Linked DNA regions of Homo sapiens: region 1 is linked to region 2. Evidence: promoter capture Hi-C in human tissues and cell types (Jung and others, 2019). All regions are on one chromosome and are shown on one strand. The core of a region is centred on a gene start or on the middle of the fragment in contact, and the rest is flanking DNA. Distances in the headings are between cores, read along the strand shown.

The links. Contacts are between HindIII fragments. The study calls those that stand out against the background at their distance.
Region 1: a fragment that was not itself captured here is called in contact with the fragment with the promoter of TK1 in region 2 in 1 of the 25 tissues and cell types used here (heart right ventricle).

Annotation. Positions count from the first base shown.
Region 1 is chr17:77,525,424-77,532,216 of GRCh38, forward strand. It overlaps LOC400622 (a long non-coding RNA gene), which reads left to right and starts at 1,578. Exons shown (of 3, transcript NR_148967.1): 1 at 1,578-1,722. RefSeq lists enhancers at 2,203-2,703, 2,704-3,204. The HindIII fragment of the contact is 3,153 bases long and covers 3,271-6,423 here.
Region 2 is chr17:78,182,188-78,189,284 of GRCh38, forward strand. TK1 (thymidine kinase 1) reads right to left here and starts at 4,865. Exons shown (of 7, transcript NM_003258.5): 1 at 4,742-4,865; 2 at 4,600-4,631; 3 at 2,868-2,978; 4 at 402-495. The coding sequence starts at 4,807. AFMID (arylformamidase) reads left to right here and starts at 5,175. Exons shown (of 11, transcript NM_001010982.5): 1 at 5,175-5,246. The coding sequence starts at 5,184. RefSeq lists an enhancer at 2,078-2,979 and a silencer at 5,018-5,157. The HindIII fragment of the contact is 12,138 bases long and covers 1-7,097 here.

The DNA.
Region 1 (6,793 bases), core at 3,597-6,096, 660 kb before region 2:
GGCGGCGCCTCTGGAGTTGATCCTTCCTCCCGTCAGGAGTTATTCGTTCCATTCCTCCTGGTGGGTTCATGGTCTCGGTGGCATCAGTAGACCTTCACAGTGAGTGTTACAGCTCATAAAGGCAATGCGGACCCAAAGAATGAACATTTATTGTAAAGAGCAAAACAACAAAGCTTCCACAGCTCAGAAGAGAACCCCAGCAAGTTGCCCCTGCTGATTCGGGCAGCCTGCTTTTATTCCCTTATCTGGCCCCACCCACATCCTGCTGATTGGTCCATTTTACAGCAAGCTGATTGGTCCGTTTTACAGAGAACTGATTGGTCTGTTTTGACAGGGTGCTGACTGGCACGTTTACAAACCTTTAGCTAGACACAAAAGTTCTCCAAGTCCCCACTAGATTAGCTACACACAGAGCACTGACTGGTGCATTTACAAACCTTGAGCTAGACACAGGGTACTGATTGGTGTGTTTACAAACCTTGGGCTAGACACAGAATGCTGATTGGTGTACTTACAATCCTATAGCTAGACATAAAAGTTCTCCAAGTCCCCACCCGCCTCAGGAGCCTAGCTGGCTTCACCTAGTGGATTCTGTGCCAGGGCCGCGTCAGGCGCCTGCACTCCTCAACCCTTGGGCGGTCATGGGACTGGGCGCTGCCCAGCAGGGGGCAGCCCCCGTCGAGGAAGCTCGGGCCAAGCGGAAGCCCACCAGGAGGGGGTGGGGGGTGGGGCTCGGGCAGGGCGGGCTGCAGGTCCCAAGCCCTGCCTCATGGGGAGGCAGCTGAGGCCCGGCGAGAATTCCAGCATGGCTCGGGCGGGCCGGCAGTGCTGGGGGACCCGGCGCCCCCGACCCCCCCAGCTGCTGGCCCGGGTGCTAAGACCCTCACTGCCTGGAGCCGCTGGCAATAGCCAGCGGATCAGAGTGTGGGGCCCGCCAAGAAATCGCCCTGGCCCGGGGAGCCCCCTGGGCAGCCCCGGTTCCCGCCCGCGCCTCTCCCTCCACAACTCTCCCTCAACACCTCCCTCTCCACTCCTCCCCGCAAGCAGAGGGAGCCGGCTCCACCCTCGGCCAGCCCAGAGAGGGGCTCCCACAGTGCAGTGGCGGGCTGAAGGGCTCCTCAAGGGCAGCCAGAGTGGGTGCCGAGGCCAAGGAGACACCGAGAGTGAGCGAGGGCTGCCAGCACACTGTCACCTCTCAGCAGCATACAAGGGCCACCTGGGAAGTGGCCACTGAATCTGGGCTCAGGCTATAGGCCCCCTCTCTTGATCTTCAAGTTCAGTCTCCCATTTTTCCTTGTCATTTTTGTTTTGCCAGCTTTCAGTGGCAGCAGCCCCTCCCCCTGGGGCTCAGAGCTGGAGAGGGAGTTTTAAGTGGTTTCTGCAAAATATTTTGGAGGAGAATGATCTGCCTTTAGTAGTCAAGGACTCTTCTTGCAACACTCAGGCTCTGTTTTATGGACAGAAAGAGTCCAGGAGGCTCTCTGAGCCACACAAGGCCCTTTGCAACCTTCCTGGGCTCGGGCTGCGAGCAGCCATTTTGGAACATGTGAAACGGATTTTAAATTCCCTCTTTGCAGTTTGAGAAGATGGCGGCCTGAACCGGAGTCCTTCTTCCCCTCCTCCCTCTCCGCTGCTGCAATGCCCAGGCCCCCCGCAACGTTCCTCGTCTGTAATGGTGCCAGAGGCTTTAAATCTTGCAGAAGCCACATCTGCTGCCTGCAGGTAAACCTCCCTGGCTGAGCCCACTGCGCACGCCTCCACGTTCTGGAGCCAGAAACAATGAGAAGCACAATTCCGGCAGCATCTCTCCTCCCGGTCATTTGCATAGCACAACCTCTCCCTCCACCCCCTCCTGTCTCCCACGTGGATCTTCATGTAATTAATTAATATCGCGTTCATCAGAGCTTAATTCATGTTCTTGTAATATACAAGGATTAAAAAAAAATCCTACCAAGAGAGCAGTAATAGGCTCCGGCTTTTCTGGTCTGGGAGCAAATATAATGAGCCTCCATGAAAATATTGAATCGCTTCCCGCAGTCTCCACACCTCAGAGCACTGGCATGTTTACTGTGGTAAGCCACCCCTGTGTTTAGAAACATCACGGCCTGCTTTCCTACAGGGGTAGCCATGCTGGGGGCCTCTCTGGAGCCTCTCCTAGGAGTGCATTCAGCAGGGCAGAGGCTCGGAGCTCTTCCCGGGGGTACATTCAGCAGTGGCAGAAGCTCAGCAGATGATGGGGTTCTGTGTGGGTGAGAGCTGAGGGTTGGGTTTCCTGCACAATGCCAAGAGTGCCAAGAGTGGCATTGCAAGTTACTCCTTCCCTCCCAGAGCCCATTTATTTTTAAGCCACCCTCTCCCCTCCACTACAGTGTGATGGCTTCTCCATGCTAATCGCCCTATAGAACAAGGAGAAAAGGAAAGGTGGGCCCTTCACGGTATATATTTTGCTCTTTGATTGGAACGAAATGAACTCAGTGTAACGTCCAGGCTGTTGTGGGGGCTGGGTTGTTTCTGGACAGAAAGTCCCATCTGTGTCCAGGGGGCCGCGTCTGAGTTCGGGGCATCCACACTGGCACGCTGTTTTGCTCGGAGCTGGGACATAACACGTGGGCTGTGTGAGCGCTCTTGGGGGCTGGAAACCCAAGGGGCCGATCAAGGGTTCTTGATTCAACCAAACCTCCCCCTTGCCATCCTCCATGCAGAACGCGTCCCTGGGGCCTTCACCCTGTCGTGAACAAAGCACGACTATTTTGTAAAGGGAAGATCAAAGAGCCAGAAGTCGCGGATGAGTGTGTGGCAGGTGGGGACTCAGAGTGACAGTGGCCATGCGGTGTGTCCCGTGGTCGCCCCAGAGGCGGATGGGCCAGGCCGCTGCACATACCCTGGGAGGAGGCAGGTGGGGAGGGAACCCGAGGACCCTGCCTATGTTCACCCCTCTGTTCCTCTCTGGGACCCACTATGGCTGGAAGGGACTTTTTCCTTCTCCCCCCACCCCTCCCCTCCTCACCTTCCCTCCCCCTGCTTTTTAATTTCTTCCCTTTTGCAAGGCTTTTTGTCCAGCTGGGGCTGGGAAGAAGATGCCCCCGACCCCCTCTCGTGGTCGCCAGGGTAGGGGTGGGAGGAATCTGGAAGCCACGTGCGATGCTCGGAGCTGCGTCCTCTGTCCTGGGGCGTGGGTCCGCGAGCGCCGCGCAGCCTCCCGGACCGCCCTGAGCTGCTGCGCCCGGCGCTGCTCCTCCTTCCCCAGCTCCGCGCCTTCCCCTCGCGATCCCCCTCCTGCCTCTTCGGTCCTGGAAGCGTCCCAAGATGGGGTGGGGGCATGGAGGGAGAGAGGGGAGGAGGGAGCTGCCCGGGGGCAGTGCCGCCAGGAAGTGGGACGGGGACTCTGGCGCCCCTCCAGGCTGCTGCGCGCGGGCTGGGGACCGTGCACCGCTTTGCGCGCCAGACGATGCATCTTCTGGAACGGCAGCTGAGGCAATGCGGGGTGTGAAGTGGCGGCGGGCAGAGGGGCTCGCAGGGGCTGGGATCCGCGTGCCCCTCTCTGCCTCGGTGCGGAGCACGATGTGCCCGGGCGGGGGCGAGGACGTCCGGGAGGGGCTGGGCTGCGCACGCTCGCGGGGCCGTCGCAGATGGGCGGTTTGGAGGCGCTGCAGTCCCTGGGAAATGGGAGCCTCCGTCCTGTTCTCTCTGCTGCTTGGCTGGGCTGGGCTGGGCAGGGCAGGAAAGCCAGGGTCCCCACCCCTCCTGGAGCAGAGCACTCCGCGCTGGCTGTTCCGGGGGCCCGGGAGGGCAGAGCTGTCAGAAGGTCTGTCTGGCATCATTAGGGGAGCTGTCTGTCTCTCTATCCCTGGCTGGCGTGGCCCGGCAGGAGGCGAGGCTGATATTTTCAGGAGACCTGGTGATTTGACCTGACACCTGTCAGTCAGGTAAGCGCTGGCCTCCTGCCTGCATCCCCCTGGGGAAGAGCCGGTTCTGCTCCCTGACCGGGAACGGGTCCCTCAGTGCTGAGGATGGCAGTTAATGAGCCCGCCGAGGGGCTGCCCACCGGGTGCACAGGCAGGAGCAGTGGGCATATCCCCTGCTTGCCAGGCCCTGCAGAGGGGCTGCCTTCTCCCCCAATGCCTTCTGCCCCCTTCTAGTGTCTCCAACATTGACCCTGGAAATCACTTTCTTGCTTCTCTTATCAGGATAGTCCTACATGTCTGGAACTTTCTGGGATGTTCTCTGTGCCTTGGAAGTGTTTATTTATTACTTTAAAATCACCTTTAGGGTCTTTATCCTTAAAGATAAAGCCAGTACCTAGAACCAGGTGTCCTTCCCGCAGGGCTTTAGGCCCTACCTGACTTGGGTTCTCAGTCAACCCTTTCCTTCCCTGTGTAACGTGGGTTTTGGCTTTTGCGGAAGTAATCTGTTATGGTCTAAATTGTGTCCTCCCCAAATCCATATATTAAATCCCTAAGCCCCTGGCTGGGCGTGGTGGCGAGCACCTGTAATCTCAGCACTTTGGGAGGCCGAGTTGGGGGCGATCACCTGAGGTCAGAATTTCGAGACCAGCCTGGCCAACATGGTGAAACCCCGTCTCTACTAAAAATACAAAAATCAGCGGGGAGTGGTGGTGGCTGCCTGTAATCCCAGCTACTCCAGAAGCTGAGGCTGGAGAATCACTTGAACCCGGGAAGCAGAGGTTGCGGTGAGCTGAGATCGCGCCATTGCATTCCAACCTGGGGGACAACAGCGACACTCTGTCTCAAAAAAATAGATAAATAAAATAAAAATAAAATAAATCCCGAAGCCCCAGTATCTCAGGATATGATTGTATTTGGAGATACAGCCTTCTATGACCTTCTATAACCTCAGTCCCCAACCTTTTTGGCACCAGGGACTGGTTTCGTGGAAGGCAATTTTTCCACGGACCCGGGTGGGGTGGGGGGTGGTTTCGAGGTGATGCAAGCACGTTACATTGATCGTGCACTTTATTTCTGTTGTTATTACATTGTAATATATAATGAAATAATTATACATTTCATCATAATGTAGAATCAGAGGGACCCTGAGCTTGTTTTCCTGCAACTAGATGGTCCCATCTGGGGGTGATGGGAGACAGTGACAGATCATCAGGCCTTGGATTCTCATAAGAAGCACGCAACCTAGATCCCTCACATGTGCCGTTCACAACAGGTTTCATGCTCTTGTGCACATCCAATGGTTCCTAAAGGGCCACAGACCGGTACTGGTCCTTGGCCCAGGGGTTGAGGACCCCTGTTCTATAAGGTCGGGAGAGAGGCCTCAGAAGAAACCAACCCTGCCGAGACACCTTGATCTCAGACTTCAGCCTCCAGAACTGCGCGGTGATGCGTTCCTGTTGAAGGCACTCTGACCGCAGTGGCTTGCCGTGGCAGCCCTCGACAACAAATACAGGGTCTGTTGAACCAAATGAATCCAAAATGTATGCCCAAAGATAGCCGCCAGGTCTATGAAAACACCTGCTCTGATATGAGGGGACGTGGACCACAGAGGTGAGTGCTGGAATTCAAGTTGGTCTCCTTAGTCATTCTCCTGCCCCACGCCCCCTGCCCCTGTAACAGTTACATTGTCTTAAATCGTACTCGTTTAAAAAGGTATTTACACAACAGATCAACATTTAAGTACATGTTTAAAAGCAATTATGAATGTGCTCACCTGTCAGGGCAGGATGGTTTTGCTCATGTGTTTCCAGTTGGTTGGGTAAATAATCAGCTCGGGTGTTGTTTTGTTTTACACCTACCCCCTACTGTAATTGTGTGTTTACTTTTATGATAACGTCACATCACTCTCATATTTAACTACTAGCAGGGATTAAGTTATTCCAATAAAAGACAGAGAAATAAATTTCAGACCCTGTTTCCTGCCTATCCCCACCCCCATCGTTCAAAAATTGGACAATTTTCCAAGATGATCGGAAGCAGTTTTGAGCATTTGGAAGCCATGGATGCCCTGGCCCGTGGCAGTGTTTTTCAACAGTAACCCACTTGCCGATAAGGTCTCCCTGTGTGGGGTCAAAGGATGTGGCCCCTGCCATCCTTGTGGTCACTAGGGAGGGTACAGGCCTGTGTGCCACACCCCAGCCTAACTCCTCCTGGGGCCTGGGCAGTTTTGATCACTAAGTCCTGACTCTGCCATGGAAGAGGCATCTTCTGGGCGGACACTGATGTTCAGTGGCCTCCAGGGGACTTGGCGGGTCCCCTTGACACACTGGAGGCTCCCTGGCTAGATTCCCCTCCCAGACACCCTCATTCCTGTATCTCCAGGACTGGAGAGGCCTGCTGGCCATCCAGGAGGATGTTTCTGTTGTCGGGCAGATGGTCAGCCCCATGCAGAGGATGGGAAAGCTTCACCTGCCACAGTTGGTAGGTATCTCAACAAGGAGACCGTTTAGTAACTCACTGTGTTCGTGCCAAGATGGCCATGTCGGGCAGCACAGATCCACTGTGGCCAGCAAGCTTACAGACACTGTGTGTTGTCAGAGCAGAGACAGTGTGGAGTTAACATCGTCTTCATCACCACAAACTGCCCTTGCAGGAGCTTGGAGGGGACCCAGGTGCTGGTAGTGACCTTGGCACATTCACAGGGTGACGGCAGAGACAATGGTGGTGACGATAGTTGGGATAGTAACTCAGACTCACAGCTGCGTCCATGTCTTGCAAAATCACGTGGTCTCAGTTGGTCCTCACAGTCCTGGAAATTGTCATATTCTTGAGCTGTAGGGTGGAGGTGGGCAGGAGGCAAGGTCTAAAATTCACTTCTCTCTGCCCGA
Region 2 (7,097 bases), core at 3,615-6,114:
AACATGGAGAAACCCCATCTCTACTAAAAATATAAAATTAGCTGGGCGTGGTGGCGCATGCCTGTAATCCCAGCTACTCGGGAGGCTGAGACAGGAGAGAATTGCTTGAACCCAGGAAGCAAAGTTTGCGGTGAGATTGTGCCATCGTACTCCGGCCTGGGCAACAAGAGCAAAACTCCGTCTCAAAAAAAAAAAAAAAAAAGTAAAACGAATCCTACAAGACTATGACACTATGACAGGGAAACTAGAAAGGGGCCTTCAGAGGGTATTCCAACACTAGTTGTAGCTATTTAACCTTGTTATTTTACTAAAAGATCAGATAACTTCCAAGTCAGCGAGGGAAAACGGGAGGACAGAGCGGAAGCTGGCAGGAAGAGTGATGCCAAGACAAGCCAACTTACAAACTGCCCCTCGTCGATGCCTATGACAGCCACGCCCAGGGCCTCCTGGGCCACGTCTCGGAGCAGGCAGGCGGGCAGTGCCTCCATGGTGTTCCTGGGAAGAGAAAGCCAGAGCGTGAGCAGGGCCAGGGAGGCCAGAAGCCACAATGCAGGGGCCAGGGAATGGCACTGTCGTGACCACCTGCTACCTGCAAAGCAGGCTCAGTGTTCACCCAGCCGGGCTTTGAGAAGTTAGCACCTATGGGAAAGGCCCTCGTCCAGAAAACCAGTTATTTATTTATTTTTTATGAAACAGAGTCTTGCTCTGTCACCCAGGCTGGAGTGCAGTGGCGCCATCTCGGCTCCCTGCAATCTCTACCTCCCAATTCTCAAGGGTCTCAAGCGATTCTCCCACCTCAGCCACAAGAGTAGCTGGGACTACTGGCACACACCATCACACCCAGCTAATTTTTGTATTTTTAGCAGACATGGGGTTTCACCATGTTGGCCAGGCTGGTCTCAGACTCCTAACTTTTAAGTGATCCACCCGCCTTAGCCTCCCAGAGGAAAACCAGTTATTTATACAAGCCACTTCACTTGATGCTTTGGATTAGAAATTAGTAATGTCCAGTACAAAGCTCAATGAGACTAAAAACTCTTCCACTGTTCAGGAGCTGGGGGCAGACTAGGCCAACTTCATCAGGTACCAGGGCCCATGATACCATTAGGGGCCAGCCAAATGTTTCCTTTTAAAATTCAGAAGAATGAATAACTAGAACTGGGCCTGGGTTATATTTGTCTTTATATTAATTATGTTGCAAAACATAAATTTTTAAAATCCTGTATTCTGGCCAGACACAGCAGCTCATGCCCGTAATCTTTGGGGAGGCCAAGACGGGAGGATCACTTGAACTCAGGAGTTCGAGACCAGCCTGGGTAACACAGCGAGACACTGTGTGAAAAAAATGTAAAAATTAACTGGGTGTGGTGGTGTGCGCCTGTAGTCCCACCTGCTCAGGGGGCTGAGGTGGGACGATCACTTGAGCCCAAGGGTTTGGGGTCACGTAACAGTAAGCTATGATTGAGCCACTGCACTCCAGCCTGGGTGACAGAGAGAGACCCTGTCCCAAAAACAAACAACAAACAAACAAAAAAACATACTTTACAACTATTGTTTCGTTATTACCTTGCTATAATCCTACTTCGAGTTCTGGAAAGAATGTGTGAAACAGTATTTTGGGCATTTTAAATTCCCTCTTCCCTCCCTAAACAGAGAAAGACAAAGTGAGGGCAGGTGGGAGGCCAGCTGTGGCCCCTGCAAGGGCAGCCTCTCGAGCCATCAATGCTGCTGGCCCAGCCTTGGCCTCTGTGGCCCGTGTTAGAGATGACTTGTGACACACGGGCAGAACTCATATTTAATCCCGGATCTGACTGACTCCAGAAGTTGTACTTCCAACAGCTGGAACGAAGTGACCTCCTCTGCTTTCCCTGTCCCCACCAGGTGTAACACCACCCTGTGCCGTGGACATCGCATCTTAGGAATGAGGAAGCAAATTTGGAAAAGTAAATGACCTACATCAGACAGCATGGTCACGAAGTGCGGTTAAATTCCCACATGCAACTCCAAGCCCCAAGCACCCTCCACTCCACCAGCATCTGGCTTCAGGAGCCCCTCAGCTCCCACCGAAGGCCACACGCCGGGTGGATCTGTTCTCTGCACAGCCATAGCAACTCTCGGATACAGCTCCCAGCCAGGGCTCTGAGGCTGAAGCCCTATAATGTGTGGCACAGCATGGCTTTGCCACTGGGTGCCCAGGTGGACAAGTCCAGAGGACCAAGCAAAGCGTCTCAGGCTCAGAAACATCAGGCCCACATCTGCTGCCAAGGAAGTGAATTTAACTCCCAAACTGAGGTTGCAGGCGGAAATGTCCAGCGAGCTCAAACAGCTACACATAAAACAGGGAAGCGTGAAGGCTGCCAGGTGACGGGGGAGCCAGCCAACAACGGACAACTAAAAAATTAAACAAAAATCAACGTGCAGGCCAAACCAAACCAGTCTGCAGCCTGTGTGAAGCTGAAACCCTACGGCAGAGTTTCTGAACACTGGCAGGCTCCTGACATTTGGGGCCAGCTCGTTCTTGCATGGGGGCCGTCCTCTGCACCATAGGACCCTTAGCAGCAGTGTCCCTGATTTCTACACATTAAAGCCCAAAAGCATCCCCTCCCCCCTCCAGTTGCAACAACTAGAAATGTCTTCAAACATTGTCAAATGGACCCTGGCGGCAAAATCACCCTCAGTGGAGAACCACTGGCTCCAGCCCAGGGAGTGGAGAGTGTGCGCTACCTTGCCAAGCACCTTGGAAAGTGTGCTGATTTGAATCATTCAATGTTCAAATGATTAACCATCCCCATTAAAGAGAGTCCTAACAGTGTGTCCTGTGCCTTGTGATTTTCCACTGGACAGGACTGCAGGGGGCAGGGACTGACCGGTCATGTGTGCAGAAGCTGCTGCTGTAGCGAGTGTCTTTGGCATACTTGATCACCAGGCACTTGTACTGAGCAATCTGGAAGCGACGGACGCGTCTCATCAACTCTGTGCTGCAAGAGGAGAGAGGGTCAGGTGAGGTCCACGGCGGGAGGAGTGGGAGAAGGAGACCCCTCCCCAACAAGCCTGGCTCCTCATTGTCCCTAGTGGTATGCAGACTGAGCCCACCACAGCCAGAAAAGAGCAGGGCAGAGCAGGCAGGGTATAATATCCCTACAAAGAGGGTTGGAAGTCAGAATTCTCTATGGGGAAGAGGTCCAGGAATGGTACTCAGGTGGTCCCAGGAAGTGTGGGAGGAGTAACCTTCTCCAAGATGTAGTGGGGAAGGCAGAAGCAAAGGCTACATGTAGAGGGAACCTGCGACTGCATTCCAAAGTAACCTCATCCCAGAGTTGTTCCCAGAGTTCAGAGTTTTTCTTTCTTTCTTTTTGGGGTGGAGTCTCGCTCTGTTGCCTAGGTTAGAGTGCAGTGGAGCGATCTCAGCTCACTGCAACCCCTGCCTTCCGGGTTCAAGAGATTCTCCTGCCTCAACCTCCCGAGTAGCTGGGATTACAGGAGGCTGCCACCATGCCCAGATAATTTTTGGTTTTTTTTTTCAGTAGAGATGGGGTTTTACCACGTTGACCAGGGTGGTCTCAAACTCCTAACCTCAAGTGATCAACGCACCTCAGCCTTCCAAAGCGCTGGGATTAAAGGCGTGGGCCACCACACCTGGCATACAGCTTTTCTAAATTAATTTCAGAAAGTCTTTGTGTGCAGCGTCAAAAGCACTTGCTTCTGGGTCCAAGAAGTCCAACTCTGAGCCACATCTTCCTGAGCAAGGGGTTTGAGCTGAAGTGATCCCCAGGGCCATAAAAGAATGTTGGGGCAGGGCATGGTGGCTAACATCTGTAATCCCAGCACTTTGGGATGCTGAAGTAGGAGGATTGCTTGAGACCAGGAGTTCAAGACCAGCTTGGGCAACATAGCAAGACCCCAGCTCTATAAAAATAAAATAAAATTAGCTGGGTGGAGGCGGGGGGGTGCACGCCTGTAGTCCCAGCTACTTGGGAGGCTGAGGTGAGAGAATTGCTTGAGCCCAGGAGTTTGAGACCAGCCTGGGCAACATAGCAAGATCCTACCTCTAGAAGAACAAAAACAAAACAAAAAGAATGGTGCGTGGGTAGTTTACTCAAGAAACTCACTAGCCCCACCCGGGTCAGGGAATGGTTCTATCACCTCAGGAGAGCAGAGGCTCCACGGCTTCAGACTCCTTGGTTTAGAAAGCGACTACGTTTCCTTGGCCTTAGAAGGAAACAGCCACATTGAATAGGGGTGTACAAAAAGGCCTGGCCTACAGGGGACACAACTGGTTGCCACCTTCTCAGAGGACTTGGTGGGGAAGACAGCTAAGCTGTAAGCAGCTGTCACCAGCTCCAGGAGGGAGTGGCGTCCACACAGGACGAGGGGCTTGGCCTGGGCAGAAGAGGGCAGAGACTTCCTCCTGGACTGAATTCAAGGGAGGAGCACCCCAGGCGGGAGCTGTAGGAGGCTGTGCTGGTCCTTCTAGGGGAAGGGAAGGGGAGGGAAGGGAAGGGGAGGGGAGGGGAGGGGAGGGAAGGGGAGGGGAGGGACGGGACAAGGGGTCCCCGGAGAAGAGGAAGGAGCTCCACCCCAGCCCCGCGAAGCCATTACCTTTTTCCTGAGAACATCGGCCCGAGAATCACCTAGGAGAGAAGGTGAGGTCATTTGAGGGCCCGCCCTGCGCGGATGCCTGGACACAGGCTATCACCACGACCACCTCATCCCCAGCCACGCGCAGGGCTGGCCCCCGCACCTGGATCTGCCCCCGGGTCTTGCTGGGGGAGCCAGGCAGCACAGTGGGCAGGTTAATGCAGCTCATTGCGCCTCCGGGAAGTTCACGAACCCGAGTACTCTCCAAGGCCGTCCCGCAGTAAGCCCCTGGTTCCCGCGCCGACCGCTTTAAACCACGGCGTGCTGGCCAATCACGAGCCGGCCCCGCCGCCATGGGGCCAATCAGCGCCCGGCCGCTGACCTGGCGGGAGATTTGGCCGCAGCCCGCCCCCTCGTGGGAGGAATCCGGGACGTGCGCCCAGGGACTGGGAGGGCCTGGAAATCAGGGCGATGGACGTGGCTGATCGGGGTGGGGCCTGGTCTGAGCCCCGCCTCGGTCCGCCCACCAAGTTTAAAGGGGCGGAGCGAGGCGGGGCTCTGGCCATATAAACAGAGGGACGCACGCCCATGCGGCTGTAGACGCCATGATGGATGTGTCTGGTGTGGGTTTCCCAAGCAAGGTTCCTTGGAAGAAGATGTCTGCAGAGGTAGGTGGATTGCAGGGAGGGACTAAGGGGCTGGGGCGGAGTTAGCTCATTTATTAGATTGGAATTCCAAGAAGGAAGCTTAGAAGCCGTCTAGAGCACTCCTGTGGGCATGCAGAGCGCCTAGTGCGTGCCAGGTCCCCAGTGCTTGAGCACCATGGTGTATTTTACCTTCTCCTAAGGATTTTTGTTAACCTGGTTTTCAGGATAAAGAAAATTGAAGTCCTGACTATGCTAATAATATCCGTAGACCCTGCCAGGCGTGGCGGCTCACACCTGTAATCCTAGCACTTTTGGCGGATCACGAGGTCAGGAGTTCGAGACCAGCCTGGCCAACATGGTGAAACCCCGTTTCTACTAAAAATACAAAAATTAGCCGGGCGTGGTGATGTACCTCTGTAATCCCAGCTACTGGGGAGGCTGAGACAGGAGAATCGCTTGAACCCAGGAGGTGGAGGTTGCAGTGAGCCGAGATCATGCCATTTGTACTCCAGCCTGGAAGGCTGGGCGATAGACCAAGACTTAGTCTCAAAAAAAAAAAAAAAAAAAAAAAAAAAAATCCATAGACCCGCAGGAGGTTAGGGGACAAAGTTCTGGACCTTGATCTGAGGTTACACAATGTTTTTGGGTCTGTGCTTATGTGGCACAGGCTGAAGGATTCAGAACAGCTGGTATTTACATTGGGGTTGTGAAGGTTAGAAACATACAGGCCGGGTGCGGTGGCTCAAAAAAAAAAAGAAAGAAAGAAAAGAAACCCATTGTATAATCATGATCATAAATAATAGCAACAAAGATGGTGGTAGTGATCACAGAGTGTGCCAGGTGTGGCTGTAAGGATCCTACAGGTAATAACCTTTCCAGGTACAGATTGGACAGATCCAAGGACCTCTGACAAAGAGCTCCTTCACTGGGAGGAAGAAGCAACCCACACTGACTGGCTTGCTTTATTTTACTCGCATGCTTTATCTCTTTTAACCTTGTGATTTGGATACATGCCTTCTTTTTTTGAGACACAGTCTCGCTCAGTCACCCAGGCTGGAGTGCAGTGGCATGATCTCGGCTCACTGCAACCTCTACCTCCCGGGTTCAAGTGATTCTCCTGCCTCAGCCTCCCGAGTGGCTGGGATTACAGGCACACTGTAGCTGGTACTACATGCCTGGCTAATTTTTTTTTTTTTTCTTTTGAGACAGAGTCTCGCTCTATCGCCCAGGCTGGAGTGCAGTGGCGCGATCTGGGCTCACTGCAACCTCTTCTTCCAGGGTTCACGCCATTCTCCGGCCTCAGCCTCCTGAGTAGCTGGGACTACATGCGCCCGCAACCATGCCCGGCTAATTTTTTTGTATTTTTAGTAGAGATGGGGTTTCACTGTGTTAGCCAGGATGGTCTCCAACTCCTGACCTCATGATCCGCCCCCCTTGGCCTCCCAAAGTGCTGGGTTTACAGGCATGAGCCACTGCGCCTGGCCAATTTTTGTATTTTTAATAGAGATGGGGTTTCGCCATGTTGGACAGACTGGTCTTGAACTCCTGGCCTCAAGTGATCCACCCGCCTCGGCCTCCCAAAGTGCTGAGATTACAGGTGTGAGCCACTGTGCCGGGCCTGGATAGATACCTTCTACCAGTCAGGAAACTGAATCTCAGAGACTAAGTAACTTGTTGAGGATAAAACAGTAAGTAAGTGAGGGAGGTCAGATGGCATTTGACCTCAGGCCTTGCCATGAGGCTGCCCTGACTTCCCATTTCTCATGATGGTTTTGAGCCCTTTCTTCAAAATCTGGTTCCTTGTTACTTTTTTTTTTTTTTTTTTTTGAGATGGAGTCTCGCTGTTGTCACCCAGGCTAGAGTGCAATGGTG